2 separate regions of the Homo sapiens genome follow, and region 2 is linked to region 1. Evidence: promoter capture Hi-C in 16 types of primary human blood cells and fetal thymus (Javierre and others, 2016). All regions are on one chromosome and are shown on one strand. Each heading gives the region's core, a stretch centred on a gene start or on the middle of the fragment in contact. The rest is flanking DNA. Distances are from core to core; before and after follow the strand shown.

The links. The method cuts DNA at HindIII sites, captures the fragments that hold promoters and counts their contacts. A CHiCAGO score of 5 or more calls a contact.
Region 2: a contact is called between a fragment that was not itself captured here and the fragment with the promoter of IP6K1 in region 1, in 1 of 17 cell types (M2 macrophages). The highest score is 5.2, in M2 macrophages.

The regions. Positions count from the first base shown.
Region 1 is chr3:49,785,056-49,788,046 of GRCh38, forward strand. It overlaps IP6K1 (inositol hexakisphosphate kinase 1), which reads right to left and starts at 1,487. Exons shown (of 6, transcript NM_153273.4): 1 at 1,299-1,487. RefSeq lists silencers at 1,101-1,450, 2,186-2,350 and enhancers at 1,165-1,854, 1,941-2,010. The HindIII fragment of the contact is 18,469 bases long and covers 1-2,991 here.
Region 2 is chr3:49,977,346-49,980,336 of GRCh38, forward strand. The region is part of intron 5 of RBM6 (RNA binding motif protein 6); the gene reads left to right. Among named protein-coding and RNA genes, the nearest start is that of RBM6, 39 kb to the left of the region's middle. The HindIII fragment of the contact is 6,129 bases long and covers 1-2,991 here.

The DNA.
Region 1 (2,991 bases), core at 237-2,736:
AAGAACCAAAGAGGCCACAGGTCAAGAGAAATGTGTTTTGGAGCAATGAGAACTCTTCCTAGACCTGCACACTCTACTGAGGATCTCCAACTTGCCCAAATTCACAGGAAAGGGGCTTGAAGGTGTTTTCACTGAGCAAGATAATTTTAGTACTGTTAAAAGTTAATTTGCGCCGGGCATAGTGGCTCACACTTGTAACCCCAGCACTTTGGGAGGCCAAGGGGGGTGGATCACGAGGTCAGGAGTTCGAGACCAGCCTGGCCAACATGGTGAAACCCCGTCTCTATTAAAAATACAAAAATTAGCCGGGCATGGTGGCGCGTGTCTGTAGTCCTACCTACTCGGGAGGCTGAGGCAGGATAATCGCTTGAACCCGGGAGGTGGAGGCTGTGGTGAGCCGAGATCGCGCCACTGCACTCCGGCCTGGGCAACAGAGCGAGAGACTCTGTCTCAAAAGAAAAAAAAGAAAAAAAACAGTTAATTTGCCAGTTCCATATCATCCACAACAAAAACAAGTTTCTTTTTCCGATTCTAAGACACTCCTACGTTTCCTTTGTCTCCTATGGCGAGCATCCCTTTAGGAGATAAAATCAAGTCATCACCATAATACTCACTTTCTCCTAAAGCAAAAAGAGGAAGACATTACCACTCTCCAAAAAGTGGTGGTGAAGAACCAAAGAAATTATGTTCCAAAATAAAACTCAGCCATTATGGACATTTAACCAGGTTCTTTGCGAGGAAAACGGTGAGCTTCGAGGTACACGTGAGGTTCCGAACGGGTCTCAGGAAGCAGCAGCCAGGCAGAGGGTCCCCCTTGCCATAATCATAGGGCCGTGACACCGGCCTGCCTGGCTCGCGGGGGCTTTGGCTTGCTTCGTCTAGTCTTAGCATCCAGCGTCCTGAAAATCACTCGCAGGAACGCTATCTAAGAAAGAGGTAAGTCTATTTCTCAGCCAGGAGCAACATAACTCCCAGGAGAGCATCAGGGTGGCACCGGACACACTTTAGCGCTCCGGATCAGCGGAGTCCAGAGCTTCGGTCAGAGAAGCTGGTTTCCCGCTACTAGCCGGCCAACCCTCAGGCACTGGCGCTCTCCGTCCTCCACACCGGCTGTCCCCCCGGCTTCGGTGCCAGCATCTGGGAGGCTCGGCGGGCGGCCGGTCAGGACGCTCGAGCGATGTTCCAGTGATGGCCCCACCGGAGCCCCGACCCCACACGCGCCCACTCCAACCCCGCGCCCGCCACCGCCCTCCCCGCGGGCGTCAGGCCGGTCTATCGGCCCGGCTCCTGTCACTCACCTGCCCGGCCCGGGCACCGAGCGCCCACGGCTCCCTACGGGAGCTGGGCCCCCCGGGCCTCCAGGTTTCGGCCCGCCCCCTGGCAGGCAGCACAGGTGGCTGAGCACCGCTACAGCGGCCTCTCACCGGCCGCTTGGTCCAGCTCCCGGCGCTGCCCACTGGGTACGGATCAACAACAAGATGGCGGCTAGCCGAGGGGGCGGGGGCCGGGCGTCATAGTAACCAGGACTGCAAAGAACCCGCCCCCGAGGGGGTGCTATCCCCAATCAACAGTCTTTTTGCTCGTCGCCAGGGGAAGTGCTTCCTGCTGACAGGTCAGCTCACGTGTCAGTCAGAGTCTGCCTCTCAGGGCCTCTGCCGAAAGCGTGGGGCACGTGACTGTGACGGCATGGGTTGGCGCATGCGCTTCGTTCCCGGAGTGGCTGGCGGCGGAGTTTTCGCTGGCTACTACGAGGCCGGAGCGCCCTTGGCCTCTCTGCGTCCCTGGCCCTCGTGCGGTACCGGCGGCGTCTTGTCATACACTTGCGCACACACAGGGAATCTCAGCGGTGTGCTATTCGTTTTTTTGTCCCCCACTCTGGGAGAAGGGGGGTGCAGCCCCCAGTTCACTCTGGAGAGGAAACTGAGGCTCAGAGAGGGGAGGCCGAGCCAAGGTCACGCCACCTCTAGAAATGGAGGTGCTGGGTCTCGCACCTCCTCCTGCTGGTTTCAGAGTGTGAGGAGCCTCTATCCCAGCTTCCCACGCTTTGTCCCTTACTAGCCTCGAGGTACCGCAGTCTGTGCTGCCACAGCAGCCTCTGGCTCATTGCCCATGCTTTCCTGCCTGAGGTTTAGAGCCTAGCACAAGTCCTGACACACAGCGGGCACTCCCTTTTCTCTTCCCTAGAGCATCTTGTCTTGAGATCCTGTGACAGCATCTTTTGCCCTGGACTGTCATGACCGGCCTCCCAAGCAGACTAATGGTCCCAGGAAGATGGTCACACCTTGCTCCCCATACAGAACACCTAACTCTGGGCTTGGCTTCAGGCTTAGAACAACAGATGAAGTTACGTGGCCTGGGCCCACACCCAAATGCCCCAACTAGCTAACTCTGACTTTTGAGCCTTAGCCTCTCTTTAGCTTTGGTTGTCCCATCTGTAAAATGAAGATAAAAGTGGAGCTTCTCAGAGGAAGATTTAATGAGCCCTCAGAGCAGGGGAAGAACTCAGGAAAAATCTGCCTACAACCACTTCCTGGAACAACCTGCTTCCAAGTTGCTGTTCCTGAGGCGTGCCTTAAAACACTAACTTTGGTGGAAGCCCCATGAAGCGTTTTTGTTTTGCTTTGTTTTGTTCCCACAGAAGGCTTTCAGCTTCTTCCTGGCCCTGGGATACCATAACTGGTTCAGAAGGGGAGGTCCTCCTAGCTAGGCGCAGTGGCTCATGCCTGTAATCCAGCACTTTGGGAGGCCAAAGAAGGTGGATCACTTGAGGTCAGAGGTTCGAGACCAGCCTGGCCAAAATGGTGAAACCCTGTCCCTACTAAAAATACAAAAATTAGCTGGACGTGATGGCAGGTGCCTGTAATCCCAGCTACTCAGGAGGTTGAGGCAGGAGGATCACTTGAACCTGGGAGGCAGAGGTTCAGTGAGCTGAGATCACGCCACCACACTCTAGCCTGGGTGACAGAGCAAAATTCTGTCTCAAAAAAAAAA
Region 2 (2,991 bases), core at 207-2,706, 190 kb after region 1:
TGAGGCCTTGTGTCACTCTCAAATCTAAAATCATCGGGCAGTTGTTTTCCATCATATCCTTGTTTGGATCTATCACTGATTGGATATTTCTATCACTGGTATTTTTCAGTTGGATCTATCACTGATCTATCACTGGTCACTGATTGGATTGAATCTGTCAGTGGTATTGGATCTATCACTGATATTTTTCTCCGTGGTTTTGTGTATCTTATTTCTCTCACTAGAGAGGAATGTCAGCAGGAGCCTTATTCCTTCTTGTTTCCACCAGTGCTTGACACTCGGTAGGTTCCCTATATGCATGGAATAGATTATTATTTATGGTGTATGTGAAGAGCAGCTGTGATTTCCCCTCAGGTGAGGAACATAAAAGGGTAGTGTAGGTTTCACAGCAGTGCAGCTTAGGTCTTACATATCTGTTGAAGAATATGTCTTGGAACAATCAGATGTTCTAAGAACTATAGTGTTTACTGTTAAAAGATCATATGTGGTAGTCAGGCATGGTGTTGCACACCTGTAGTCCTAGCTACTTGGGAGTCTGAGATGGGAGAATTTTTTGAGCCTGAGAATTTGAGATCAGCCTGAGCAACATAGCAAGACCTTGTCTCTTAAAAAGAAAAAGAAAAAAAAATGTGAATCTTAGTAGTAACAGTGACTTAAAAATTTTTTTTTATAAGAGAAAGGGTCTTACTCTGTTGCCCAGGTTGGAGTGCATTGGTACGATCATAGCTTACTGTAACCTCAAACCCCTCGGCTCAAGTGATCCTTCTGTCTCAACCTCCAGAGTATTTGGGACTACAGGTGCGTACCACCATGGCAGGCTAATTTTTAAACTTTTTGTAGAGGCGCGGTCTCACTATGTTTCCCAGGCTGGTCTTGAACTCCTGGGTTCAAGTGATTCTCCTGCCTCATCCTCCCACAGTGCTGGGATTACAGATGTGAACCAGTATGCACAGACAAAAAGGTGACATTCATAGGTGAAAACTGGTAATAAATATTTTAGGCTGAGTGATGACCTGCAGAGACCATGCAGGATGGATATTGCTCATAAGAGGGGAATTGTGGAGTACAGTCTGTCCTGTTAGTTGATGTAATGGAGGGCTGATCTATAACACAGGAGAGAAGATTAACGCCTCTTCGTTGACTCTAGTAATGTATTAGTGTAATTTTTGTCTCCTCTAGAGCTGTATAAGTACAGGGTCACAATTTTATCTAGAACCTGTGAGGTTAAATGAGCTTATGAATTTTTCAAGTTATAGAAATGTAGTTTACATAGATCATATGGGAATTATATCTCCCAGGGGAATGTGTACTCAGACATAATACTTACGCTGCAAAATTATTAATATTCTCACTAACAGGAGTAAATAAAGTCTCACAGTATAGGCCAGGATTTGCCTCAAAATGAGTTTGTTGAATTTTACCAAAAAACTTGACATTTATGGGATTTTGGAATTGTAGATAAGAGATTTTGGACCTATATATGTTGTGTATATTTGAATTTTTCATTTGCCATTTACAAATACATTATAACCCCATGAATTGTAAATTATCTTGAATTATATGATTATTTCTGGAAAAAGTACCAGGAGTAAAATGTCTTTTGGTGACTAGACAAACTCTAGTATATATATAAAATGGAATACTTCTCAGCAATGAAGAAGAAACTACTCATGCACCTAACAACATGGATGAATCTCAATGGCAATATGCTGAGTGAAAGAAACTAGACTCATAAGGATATATACACTACCATAAGGAGGAATGAAATACTGATGTATGCTACAAGTTGGATGAACCTTGAAAACATTATAAAAGAAGCCAGACACAAAAGACCAAATATTGTGCAATTCAGTTTATATGAAATATCTAGAGAAGGCACACCCGTAGAGATAGAAAGCAGATTGGTGGTTGCCAGGGGCTAAGCGGGAATGGGGAACGACTCCCTAATGGTTATGGTACTTCTTTTGGGCTGATAGAAGTGTTCTGGAACTAGGTAGTAGTGATGGTTGCATGACATTGTGAATGTACTTAATGCTCCTGAATTGTACACTTTAAAATGATGCATTTTATTTGATGTGTATTTGCTTACTTTGTTTTTTTTTTTTTTTTTTGAGATGAAATCTTGCTCCCGTTGTGTAGGCAGGAGTGCAGTGGCATGACCTCGGCTCACTGCAACCTCCATCTCCCGGGTTCAAACGATTCTCCTTCCTCAGCCTCCCAAGTAACTGGGATTACAGGTGTGTGCCACCACACCTGGCTAATTTTTTGTATTTTTAGTAGAGACGGGGTTTCGCCATGTTGGCCAGGCTGGTCTTGAACTCCCGACCTCAGGTTATCTACCTGCCTGGGCCTCCCAAAGAGCTAGCATTACAGGAGTGAGCCACTGTGCCCAGCCAGCTTACAATTTTTTAAAAAGGCTACATACTATATGTGTATGTGTGATTTCACTTATGTGACATTCTGGAAGGGACAAAATTTTAGGGATTGGAAATAGTGGTGGCCAGGGTATTGGGGGAGGAGTTAACTATAAAGCGGAAGCATGAGGGAATTTTTGGGTATAATGGAATTGTTCTATATCTTGATTGTGGTGATGATGTATCAATGTTAAATTCCCCGAGTTGATAACTACTGTGGTTATGTTAGAGAACATCTTTTTTCTTTTCTTTTTTTTTTTAAACGGAGTCTCGTTTGGTCACCCAAGCTGGAGCGTAATGGCGCGATCTCAGCTTACTGCAACCTCTGCCTCCTGGATTCAAGCAATTCTGCCTGCCTTAACTTCCTGAGTAGCTGGGATTACAGGCGCCTGCCCCTACTCCTAGCTAATTTTTGTATTTTTTTTAGTAGCGACAGGGTTGCGCCATGTTGACCAGGCTGGTCTTGAACACCTGACCTCAGGTGATCTGCCCACCTTGGCCTCCCAAAGTGCTGGAATTACAGACGTGAGCCACCATGCCCGGCTGAGAGTATCTTTATTCTTAGAAAATACATAAT